Linked DNA regions of Homo sapiens: region 2 is linked to region 1. The links are contacts of gene promoters, found by promoter capture Hi-C in human tissues and cell types (Jung and others, 2019). All regions are on one chromosome and are shown on one strand. Each heading gives the region's core, a stretch centred on a gene start or on the middle of the fragment in contact. The rest is flanking DNA. Distances are from core to core; before and after follow the strand shown. Region 1 holds the start of OCM (oncomodulin). Region 2 has its middle 3.4 kb from the start of ZNF316.

What was found. The method cuts DNA at HindIII sites, captures the fragments that hold promoters and counts their contacts. A contact is called where the count stands out against the background at its distance.
Region 2: a contact is called between a fragment that was not itself captured here and the fragment with the promoter of OCM in region 1, in 1 of the 25 tissues and cell types used here (aorta).

Annotation. Positions count from the first base shown.
Region 1 is chr7:5,879,548-5,885,490 of GRCh38, forward strand. It overlaps OCM (oncomodulin), which reads left to right and starts at 1,251. Exons shown (of 4, transcript NM_001097622.2): 1 at 1,251-1,403; 2 at 2,946-3,078; 3 at 4,343-4,452. The coding sequence starts at 1,343. The HindIII fragment of the contact is 18,194 bases long and covers 1-4,352 here.
Region 2 is chr7:6,630,593-6,637,241 of GRCh38, forward strand. No RefSeq gene overlaps it. Among named protein-coding and RNA genes, the nearest start is that of ZNF316, 3.4 kb to the right of the region's middle. RefSeq lists a silencer at 6,406-6,649. The HindIII fragment of the contact is 5,006 bases long and covers 567-5,572 here.

The DNA of each region.
Region 1 (5,943 bases), core at 1-2,500:
TTCAGCTTACAGAGCACCCTGTATGTGTTTGTCTTAGTTCAGGCCACCATCTCCACCTTACCAGGCATCTAGAACCTTCTCCACACTTTGCCAACAGGGTTCGTTTGCAGAATTGAAATCTTAGTTAAGGTTTGTTGAAGTTTGTTGTTGTTTTTTTTTTTTTTTTACAATTGGCTGTTCCCACCCACATTCCCTTGAGACATAAATAGAAAAAAAAAAAAAAAGAGGTTTCATGAGTAAGACAAGACATTTGAGCTGCATCCACTTGATCCTTGAAAAGGAAATCTAAGAGGTTGTAACTATCACTTTTTCTAGCCTATATAAGGTAGGTCAGTAAGGTAGCAAAAACACATCTGTTGTTTTGCTCCTTCAACTCTTTTTCCTGATTCTTCCTGGGGGGAAACCGAAAACGGTGAGTAACTGGTGGACACATCAGACCCCAGACTCTTTTCTTCACTGCATGCATTCATATTAGGCTCAGGTGCTTAGACTCCTGTTTTCCGGTGGCTCTGACACCTGGAAGGATTTTAATCTCTGGGAGATGGGCTTTTCATCCATCTGCTTCCCACCTTTCAGGACAGGTGCATGCCTTCTTCCACAGAATGTCTGCAAGCAGCCCAAACTGTATCCTTTCCCACGTGGAATTTGCAACATTGCATCTCTCGGGCTGCTGTAGGAAAATGCCAGTGCATGTGTAACATGGTTTACGGCTGCCTATGCAAATGACTGATTATGTCAGTATAATTTTTATAAGAAAACAATTGAATCCTTCTTTGGGTCATTTTTTTTTTCCATTTTTGGCATGTATTCAAAAGAAGGCTCTGAGACAAAAAAGGCTGGGGTGTTTTCCGTATCTGGTTTTAATTTGGATATTCTGTCCCGTCACTTAATACAAAACCATGCTTATCACATTTTAAAAATTCTAGACAGGCCTGGCTCGGTGGCTTGCATCTGTCATCCCAGCACTTTGTGAGGCCAAGGCAGGCAGATCACCTGAGGTCAGGAGCTCAAGACCAGCCTGGCCAACATGGCAAAACCCCGTCTCTACTAAAAACACAAAAATTAGCCAGGCATGGTAGTGCGCACCTGTAATCCCAGCTACTGGGAAGGCTTAGGCAGGAGAATCACTTGAGCCCAGGAGGCGGAGGTTGCGGTGAGCCGAGATCACGCTCTTGCACTCCAGCCTGGGTGACAGAGTGAGACTCCGTCTTAATTTAAAAAAAAAAATAATCTAGACACACATACAGTTTCAGTGGGCCTGGGAAGATGTGTTTCCCCTGGATGTGCACATTCCTGTTTGTGGCTTATCGCCTCTCATTTATTCTGTGTGAGTAGGTAGAAAATGAGCATCACGGACGTGCTCAGTGCTGACGACATTGCAGCAGCGCTCCAGGAATGCCGAGGTAGAGGGGACGTGAGGCGGGGGTGGGATTTCCTCACAGCTTTGCACCTCCAGCGAGTCAACACAAAATCAAAATGTAGGCCAGGCGGCCAGACGCAGTGGCTCACACCTGTAATCCCAGCACTTTGGGAGGCCGAGGCGGGTGGATCACGAGGTCAGGAGTTCGAGACCAGCCTGGCCAAGATGGTGAAACCCCATCTCTACTAAAAATACAAAAAAATTAACCGGGCGTGGTGGTGGGTGCCTGTAATCCCAGCTACTCGGGAGGCTGAGGCAGAGAATTGCTTGAACCCGGGAGGCAGAAGTTGCAGTGAGCTGAGATCATGCCACTGCACTCCAGCCTGGGCAACAGAGCAAGACTCTGTCTACAAAAAAAAAAAAAAAAAGTAGACCAGGCATGGTGGCTCACATCTGTAATCCCAACACTTTTTGGAGGCCAAGGTGAGAGGACTGTTTGAGCCCAGGAGTTTGAGACCAGCCTGGGCAACATAGGAAGACTCCATCTCTACAACATAACAATAAAAATAAAAACTAGCGGGGCATGGTGGCATGTGCCTGTGGTCCCAGCTACTCTGGAAACTAAGGTAGGAGGATCACTGAAGCCCAGGAGGTTGAGGCTGTGGTGAGCTATGATCGCTACACTGCACTCCAGCTTGGACGACAGAGTGAGACTCTGGCTCTAAATAAATAAATAAATAAATAAATAAGAGGTTGGCTGGAAAATTCATGGAATCAGAGAAGAAAACTGCTATTTATTAGATAACTAAAATTATAGAGATCTGGGATCTGAGCACACGATTACACATCTGTAAGACAAAAGAAACCTACTAAACATGAAAGCAAGACATCACTGAAAGGCCAGGTGTCGTGCTCACACCTGTAATCCCAACACTTTGGGAGGCCGAGGCCGGTGCATCACTTGAGGTCAGGAGTTCAAGACCAACCTGGCCAGCATGGCAAAACCCTGTCTCTATTAAAAATACAAAAATGAGCTGGGCATGGGGGTGCACACCTGTAATCTCAGCTACTTGGGAGGCTGAAGCAGGAGAATCAGTTGAACCCGGGAGGCAGAGGTTGCAGTGAGCCGAGATCACGCCACTGCACTCCAGCCTGGTGACAGAGTGAGACTCTGTCTCAAAAAAAAAAAAAAAAAAAAAAAAAAAAAAAAAAGCGCCAAAGGCCATTTAGCCTGTTGAAATCCAGTGATTGCATTTCCCCCTACCAATTAGACCAGGGATGCTGGGGGCTCAGCCACACAGCCTGTAAAGTGGGCCAGGGGGAGGGGGAGGCACAGAAGAGATGAGGAGGGAAAAGGAAAATGGACAAAACCAAGTGGAGGAGGGAAGACTGGGGCGGAGGGGACATGGGATGCCATCACAGAGCCATCAAGTCTTGGCTGTCCCAAAATCTTGGACCAGTTGAGCATCCCCGTAGCTCAGGGATATTGTTGAAGTGTTTTTAATTATCTGTGTTTTTAGTACCTTGGCCCCAACATAGAATGTGATCCAACAAGCGTCAGAATAACCAATTCTCTGTTCTTCAGACCCAGACACTTTTGAACCCCAAAAATTCTTCCAGACATCAGGCCTCTCCAAGATGTCAGCCAATCAGGTGAAGGATGTTTTCCGGTTCATAGACAACGACCAGAGCGGGTACCTGGATGAAGAAGAGCTTAAGTAAGCTTTGTCCTGAGTCTGTCTGGTACCCGGCACTGCTGAGTGGGCCTGGGGTGCAGTGGGGGCCAGGTTGCTCAGTATTTCTTCAATGGCCAGCCTTGGTGTTGGTCATTCGGCCAAGCATCATTAAAGCAAAGGACATGAGTCAGTTGACCGCACATCTACCCATGCAAAGCCCTCAATATGGGCAGAGAAGACTGCAGGTGCAAAGATTCTTTTTTTTTTTTTTTTTTTTGAGACAGGGCCTCACTCTGTTGCCCAGGCTGGAGTGCAGTGGGGTGATCTCAGCTCCCTGCAGCCTCCGCCTTCCAAATTCAAGTGATTCTCATGCCTCAGTCTCCCAAGTGGCTGGGATTACAGGTGCCTGCCACCACATCCAGCTCATTTTCATATTTAGAGTAGAGATGGGGCTTCACTATGTTGCCAGGCTGGTCTCAAACTCCTGACTTCAAGTGATCCTCCTGCCTTGGCCTCCCAAAGTGCTGGGATTACAGGTGTGAGTCACTGTGCCCAGCCACAAAGATTCTTTCATGTAAGGGATTTCCTTTGGCAAATGGACTTTAAAAAACTAAAAACTTGGCTAAGCGCAGTGGCTCACGCCTGTAATTCCAGCTACTCAGAAGACTGAAGCACAAGAATTGCTTGAAGTCAGGAGGCAGAGGTTGCAGTGAGCCCAGATCGTGCAGCTGCACTCCAGCCTGGGTGACAGAGAGAGACTCTGTCTCAAATAAATAAATAAATAAAAATTAAAAACACTAAAAACTTAAAAATGGGCCAGGCACTGTGGCTCACACCTACAATCCCAGCCCTTTGGGAGGCTGAGGTGGGTGGATTGCTTGAGTGAGCCCAGGGGTTCCAGACCAGTCTGGGGAACATGACAAAACCTTGTCTCTACAAAAAAAAATACAAATGTTAGTGGGGCATGGTGGGGTGCACCTGTAGTCCCAGCTACTCAGGAGGTTGAGGCAGGAGGATTGATTGAGCCCAGGAAGTCGAGGCTGCAGTGAGCCATGATGGTATCACTGCATTCCAGCCTGGGTGACAGAGCAAGACCCTGTCTCAAAAACAAACAAACAAACAAAACCTTAAAAATGAAGTGCCCACCATTGGTTTCTACAGCTTAAGGAAACCTTTGCTTGCTAAGACCTTGGTTAATTATTGCCGGTGCTGGAAACAGGTGATATGCTTAGAGGAAAAACAAAAGTGTAAACACAGAGATGCATGATCTTTTTGAAAATCCCCATGGATCTTTATTATCCTGTAGGTTTTTCCTCCAGAAGTTTGAGAGTGGTGCCAGAGAACTGACCGAGTCAGAAACCAAGTCCTTGATGGCTGCGGCGGATAATGATGGAGATGGGAAAATTGGAGCAGAGGGTATGTCCACACGTGTACGTAGCATAAAACACTCTAGCTCAGGAAGCATCCGTGAGGGCTTGGGCTGTGAGATCAAACCAATGTGGCTTAAAATCTCCCTTTCTTAAACTTACCGAGCCTCAGTCTTCTCATCTGTAAAATGGGACTAAAGTAAGGATGCAAATGATGTGTGTAAAAACCCTGGCATAATGCTCGGTAGGTACTATAGAAGCTGGTCACACTGGTCATTGTCTATGAGCTGCAAAATATCCTTCACCTGACTAGGGGACTAGCTAGCCACCTGGCCAATTATTTGCACCTGCCAACCATAATGCACCTGCATAAAGCGCGAGGTATTTCTACCAGTGGGGTTTGAACCCCTCAGAATAAGGGAAAGATTTACATCCTCAGACCAGGGTCCATTGGCATGCGTAGGAAGCCCTCTTCGTCTTCAAGGGTTTAGACAAATATATTTTATTGGACATTAGCCCGCCAAGGGGATAATATTAAACAGAGAACAAATAAGCCAACCTCATTTATTGAGTCTTCCATAGGCCGAATCCTAGGTTTGAGCTTTAGAATACACTAGCACAGCTGTAGGACTATTTTCACTTGATTTTGTCATGTTGCTAGCGTGCTTTTTAACTGCTTTGTGCCTGCCAACTCAGCAGAACATATGATGGTCCTTCTGGTGGTGCTAATTTGAAATTTAAAACTGCTACGTTAGATGCTTATTAAAAAAAAAAAAACCTGTTCAAAATTATACCACTATCGCTTACTACATGGGAGTTAATGCAGATAGATAGCTCATAAAAACAGATTAGGTAAGGGGGGATTGCCTTATTTAAACATAACCAGGGGCTGGGCGTGGTGGCTCAGGCCTATAATCCCAGCAATTTTGGAGGCCAAGGTGGGCAGATCCCCTGAAGTCGGGAGTTCAAGACTAGACTGACCAACATGGTGAACCCCATCTCTATTGAAAATATAAAAAATTAGCCGGTCATGGTGGTGGGCACCTGTAATCCCAACTACTCGGGAAGCTGAGGCAGGAGAATCGCTTGAACCTGGGAGGCAGAGGTTGCAGGGAGCCAAGATGGCACCATTGCACTCCAGCCTGGGCAACAAGAGTGAAACTCTATCTCAAAAGAAAAAAAAAAACATAACCATGAAGGATTTCCAAATAAACAAAGCTTACCAATAAATATAAAGCAAGTCCCCAGTTTTTTATATCAATCTGTAACATCCATACCTTGTTATTATTACTATTATCCTTCTTTTAGTAACAGAAACGTTTGGAGTTTGGTTCAATGGAGGAAAGTCAGTTCAAAGTCCCACCCTATCAAATATATCCTAAAAATGCAATACCCAGCTACGGAATAGAGAAAGAAAATCTCCCCTTCCTGTCTGAAATTGACCAGACAAAAAGTTAAATGTTCACAGATGGTCACAGGTAATTCCACTGAATTCATGCATTATCAGGGAGAAATGATAGGCTTGACAAGTTCTAATTCA
Region 2 (6,649 bases), core at 1,820-4,319, 750 kb after region 1:
TGCCTGCCTTCAGCCAGGATCCTGGGAGTCAGTTCAACCACAACCTCCCACTCCTTCGTATTTTTCCACCCACCCACTCCCCTCCAACCTGCTCCTAGGCTGGAAGTCTCCACTTGTCCCTGCTGTATTCAGAATTGAGCCCAGTTCTATACTGAGGTCTCTTTTCCCTATTGCAATAGTTCCTGAATAAAATCTGTTTTTTACCGTTTTAACTACTGTCCAGCTTTGTTTTCTTTTTCTTTTTTTTCTTGAGACAGGGTCTCAGTCTGTCGCTCAGGCTAGAGTGCAGTGGCACCATCATAGCTCACTGCAGGCTCACCCTCCCGAGTAGCTGGAACTACAGGCTCGCACCACCATACCTGGCTAATTTTTTCTACTTTTTGTAGAGACGAAGTCTCACTATGTTGCTCAGGCTGTTCTCGAACTCCTGGGCTCAAGTGATCGATCCTCCCACCTTGGCTTCCCAAAGTGCTGGGATTACAGGAATAATATGGTTTGGATCTGTGTCCCCACCCAAATCTCATGTTCAATTGTTATTTATTTATTTTTGGAGACTGAGTCTCCCTCTGTCACCCAGGCTGGAGTGCAATGGTGTGATCTCAGCTCACTGCAACCTCCACCTCCTGGGTTCAAGAGATTCTCCTGCCTCAGCCTCCTGAGTAGCGGGGATTATAGGCACTCGCCACCACTCCTAGCTAATTTTTGTATTTTTAGTAGAGACGGGGTTTCACCAGGTTCGCCAGGCTGGACTCAAACTCCTGACCTCAGGTGATCCACCCACTTTGGCCTCCCAAAGTACCGAGATTACAGGCCTGAGCCACCATTCCTGGCCTCTCAAGTTCAACTGTAATCCCCAGTGTTAGAGGTGGGGCCTGGTGGGAGATGATTGGATTATGGGGGCAATTTCTCATGGTTTGATACCATTCCCCCTGGAGCTGTCACCACGACAGTGAGTTCTTGTGAGATCTAGTTGTTTACAAGTGTGTGGCACCCCTCCCTTCTCTCTCATTCCTCCTGCTGCCACCATTTGAAGTGCTGGCTCCCCCTTCACCTTTTGCCATGACTGTACGTTTCCTGAGGCCTCCCCAGCCATGCTTTCTGTATAGGCTGCAGAGACATGAGCCAGTGAAACCTCTTTTCTTAAATTACCTAGTCTCTGGCAGTTCTTTATAGCAATAGGAGAACCGACTAACACGAAACATGAGTCACCGCTCCCAGCCTCACCTATGGTTTTAATAGCAGCACTACTGCCTTCAGCCCACTCCAGGCACACAGAGGCTCCGTGGGGGCATCCATCAGCATCCTTCTGTGCCAGGCTCCCTGCCAGCCCCTGGTGTGAGAGCTCAGGAGGAGCCCAGGAGGGCTTCCTGCAGGAAGAGACAGCTGAGGAAGTCCCGAGAGCCGAGTGAAGGGGAGCTCTGCCCAGTCAATGTTCAGTCCCTGCAGGTGGGTCTGTGCAGATACGGGGCAGGCCCATGTACTTGAACGGAGATGCTCTCGGCCTCACAGAATTCCAAATGCCCCAGATGCCTGTTAACTTTTCACATACCCTGTGTCCCTGCCAGTGAGACACACGAAGGCTGAAGCATAGAACAAGCTTCATGCCAATCACTGGGTGGGCTGGCACCCTCCTCACTGCCAGCACCCACCGTGGAGGATGGGCAGGAGCCAGGCAGATGACACCCCAGGAACTGTTTCATGAGTATGCTTGGATATTCCCCCAGCCCCAACCCCACCAACTGCTCATAGATAGATGACTGACATGGAATTGTACTAGTGCAAAAAGGGTATGATTTACTTTTTTTTTTTTTTGAGACGGAGTCTCACTCTGTCGCCCATACTGGAGTGCAGGGGCGCGATCTCGGCTCACTGCAACCTCCGCCTCCCGGGTTCAAGCGATTCTCCTGCCTCAGTCTCCTGAGTAGCTGGGATTACAGGCACCCACCACCACGCCCAGCTAAATTTTTGTATTTTTTTTTTAGTAGAGACGGGGTTTCACCATGTTGGTCAGGCTGGTTTTCAACTCCTGACCTCAGGTGATCCACCGGCCTTGGCCTCCCAAAGTGCTGGGATTACAGGCATGAGCTACTGCGCCCCACATTATTTAATTTTTGAGATGGAGTCTCACTCTGTCACTCAGGCTGGAGTGTAATGACACAATCTCGGCTCACTGCAACCTCTGCCTCCCGGGTTCAAGCGATTCTCCTGCCTCAGCCTCCCGAGTAGCTGGGATTACAGGTGTGTGCCACCACACCTGGCTAATTTTATATTTTTAGTAGAGACAGGGTTTCTCCATGTTGGCCAGGCTGGTCTTGAAATCCTGACCTCAGATGATCCGCCCACCTTGGCCTCCCCAAGTGCTGGGATTACAGGTGTGAGCCACTGTGCCTGGCCCCTAATTTTTGTATTTTTAGTAGCAACAGGGTTTCACCATGTTAGCTAGGCTGGACTTGAACTCCTGACCTTAGGTGATCCACCTGCCTCGGCCTCCCAAAGTGCTGGGATTACAGGTGTGAGCCACTGCACCCAGCTATTTTATTTTATTTTATTATTATTTTTTTGAGACAGAATTTTGCTGTGTCGCCCAGGCTGGAGTGCAATGGCACAATCTCGGCTCACTGCAAGCTCCGCCTCCCAGGTTCACGCCATTCTCCTGCCTCAGCCTCCCCAGTAGCTGGGACTCCAGGTGCCCACCACCATGCCCGGCTAATTTTTTGTATTTTCAGTACAGACGGGTTTTCACCGTGTTAGCCAGGATGGTCTCGATCTCCTGATCTCGTGATCCATCTGCCTCAGCCTCCCAAAGTGCTGGGATTACAGGCATGAGCCACCGTGCCTGGCCTATTTTATTTTATTTTTGAGACAGAGTTTTCCTCTGTCACCCAGGCTGGAGTGCAGTGGTGTGAACATAGTTCATTGCAGCCTCAACCTCTTGGGCTCAAGCAATCCTCTCACCACAGCCTCCTGAGTAGCTGGGACTACAGGCATGCACCACCACACCCAACTAATTTTTAAATTTTTAGTAGAGTCAAGGTTTCACTATGTTGCCCAGGCTGGTCTTGAACTCCTGGGCTCAAGCTATCTTCCTGCTTCGGCCTCCCAAAGTGCTGGGATTCCAGGCGTGAGCCACTGCACCCAGCTAATTTTTAAAAATGTTGTGTAGCGACAGGGTCTTGCTATGTTGCCCAGGCTGCTCTCAAACTCCTGGCCTTAAGCTTTCCTCCTGCCTCAGCCTTCCAAAGTGCTGGGACTACAGGCATGGGCCAATCCTGGCCTGCTTTTTAATTACTTCCTTCTTCAAATGAGTCTAGGGAAATCTATCAAGACTGAGTTCAGTAGTGAGTGACAAGAAGGTCCAACTAAACTACAGTTTATGACAACCAATTGTCCCCAGGTCAGAGGCATCCTCAGGTGGCCCAGGCCTGGTCTAGCATCTCCCTAAGGCCAAGGACACATAAGTCCCACCAGCTTCCTTCGTCTCCTCTCCGTCTCCTCAGCCCCTCAGCAGTGCTGTTGGAGCAAGAAGCAAAACTCACTCGTAGGGCCCGGTGAGGTGGCTCACGCCCTTTCCTTTCCTAAAAAGGAAAGGGAAAGGAAGAAAAGGGAAGGAAGAAAGGAAGGAAGGGAAAGAAAGAAGGAAAGAAAGGAAAGGAAAAGGAAAAGGAAAAGGAAAATTATCTGTGGACGAGGGAGAGGAAGAAATTGAGTCTTGGATTAGGTATCAGGTGAGGACAGGCCAAGAGGAGATCTGAGGAGATGCTGGGGTGATTCGGGGTCCCTGCCTGACAGGGTGGAGGGATCTAAGGCCGGGATGGAGCTGCTGACTCTATTATACACACTCCTCTTCTGGGGTCCCTTGCTGTCCACATTACAGGTGGTTTTGGGCAACGGGCAGCACTGGGAAGTGACAGGGTGCAGGAGGGCAGGGTTGGGGTACTCTCTCCTTGCCACACTGTCCCTCTATAATCACAGTGCCCACAGTGTCCCCATCTTTATATCTCCACCTCCCTCCAGGCTTGACAACATCCTGCCCTTTCCTGCTCCTGCAGGGCTAAGGGTGGCAAAGGCCTGGTGCCTTCACATTCCAGCTGCTTCCCTTTACCTGGTGTATTAGTCCATTTTCATGCTGCTGTAAAGAACTGCCCAAGACCGGGAAACTTATAAAAGGAAAGAGGTTTAACTCACAGTGGCTCTTGCCTGTAATCCCAGCACTTTGGGAGGCCGAGGCGGGCGGATCACGAGGTCAGGAGTTCGAGACCAGCCTGACCAACACGGTGAAACCCCATCTCAACTAAAAATACAAAAATTAGCCAGGCGTGGTAGTGCACACCTGTAATCCCAGCTACTTGGGAGGCTGAGGCAGGAGAATCACTTGAACCTGGGAGGTTGACGTTGCAGTGAGCAGAGATTGTGCCACTGCACTCCAGCTTGGGCAACAGAGTGCGAGACTCCATCTCAAGAAAAAAACAAAAACAAAACAAACCACCACCACCACCACCAACCACCACCAACCACCACCACCACCAAAAACTGACTCACAGTTCCGCATGACTGGGGAGGCCTCAGGAAATTTACAATCATGGTGGAAGGGGAAGCAAACACTTCCTTCTTCACATGATGGCAGGAAGGAGAAGTGTGGAGCAAAGGGGAAAAGCCCCTTACAAAACCATCAGATCTCATGAGAACTCACTAACATGAGAACAGCATGAGGCGAACTGCCCCCATGATTTAATTACCTCCCACCGGGTCCCTTCCACAACATGTGGGGATCATGAGAACTACAATTCAAGACGAGATTTCAGTGGGGACACAGCCAAACCACATCACCTGGTGACACTGCTTTTGGTCAATTGTTAATTGTCCTACAGTCAGAGCCCTTCCTGGGAGTGCCTGGGGGCAATTGCACCTTCCTACTGAACCTGACGGATCAGGTAGGGTGGGGAAGGGTCTAATCTAGGGATTAGGGGTTCTAAAAGATACCCACAGGAGAGTCAGGCAGTGTCATTCAGATGTGGGCCTGGAGGAAAGGGACAGGGAGTGGTGGGCACTGAGGACCATGGCCACGCTCAGTCCCACCCACAGAAGCTGGTTACTTCTCAGGCCCTACTGGCTGGTGCCCTGCAAACCAGGGGCCTTGTGTTGCCAGAACTTCTGATTTTTCAGATTTTATTTATTATTAGAGACAGGGTTTCAATCTGTTGCCCAGGCTGGAGTGGAGTGGTGCTATCATAGCTCACTGCAGCCTCAACCTCCTGGGCTCAAGCAATCCTCCCACCTTGTTTTCCCAAAGTGCTGGGATTACAGGTGTGACCCGCCTCGGCCCCCCAGAGTGCTTAATTTATAGGTGTGAGACCCCGCATTAGAACCTGATTTTTCAATTTTATTTTTTAAACAAGAATGGGACTCCTTATTTTAAAATGTTATTAACTTTAAGACATTTTAAGACACCAAGAGCCAAGCGACATCACTGTGAGGGTCTGATTCAAGGGGTTGGGGCTGCACCCCTCTGTGGGACTAAGGTTTGAGTCCTCCTCTATCTTATTATTATTTTGAGACAGAGTCTCACCTTGTCGCCCAGGCTGGCGTGCAGTGGTGTGATCTCGGCTCACTGCACCCTCTGCCTCCCGGCTTCAAACGATTCTCCTGCCTCAGCCTCCCAAGCAGCTGGGACTACAGGGGTGCGCTACCACGGCCGGCTAATTTTTGTATTTTTAGTAGAGATGGGGTTTCACCCACCATGTTAGCCAAGCTAGTCTCGAACTCCTGACCTCGTGATCCGCCCGCCAAGACCTCCCAAAGTGCTAGGATTACAGACACCGTGCCTGGCCGAGTCCTCCTCTATCTCTTGCCCAGTCAGGCCTGGGGTCCCCACAGAAAAGCACCAAGAACAGTGGTGCAGGCGGGCTGGGAGCTGGGGAAGGGGCCCAGGCCACACCATTCCAGGCGGAAGACAGACCCTGGACTCCACCAATGCCAGAGCTCATCCTGACACCCCAGCTGCACCTCTTGGGAGCAGGTGCAGACAGGCTTGTGGGTGGGGGTCTGGGGGTGGCCGCTGAGCTCACCGACCCCTCCCTGGGTTCCTGGGGTCGCCTGTCACTTCTGCCCCCACACTGGCCATGCCCTCTGCCTGGACATCGCTTCCCTGCCCGTGACCCCATGTCCCTCCAAGTGCGGGCTCCACAACCCCAGTCTCCTCCTGCACTCAACCGCCACAGTCCACCCATAAGACGTTCACCCCGCCCGTCCCTCCTCCCTCCCCACCCACAAGACGTTCACCCCGCGCGGGCCCGGGGATCTGGTGGAGGCGTGGACACCTGGCCCCCTCCCCACCACAGGGGTCGCCTCCTCCCTCCACCATCCTGGGGTCCCGGGCAGGCTCCGTGGACTGGCGGAGGGGGCCCAGCGCGGGGCCTGGTCCTCAGCGGGCGCCCCGATGAACGAGGCCGGGCTGGGGTTCGGGGAAGGCGGTGGTCGCAGCGGCGGGACCTCGGGGTCACCTCCGAGACCTGGCCAGGGTGTCCAGGAGCGGGGCGAGGTTGTGGGCGCCCCACGAGTGTCGAGGGCGCTCCCGTCCCCTCCCCGCATGCCCCGTCCTCGCCCCGGCCCGAGGCCCAGCTGGGCAAACCCCCGCAACCCGCGCTTCCCC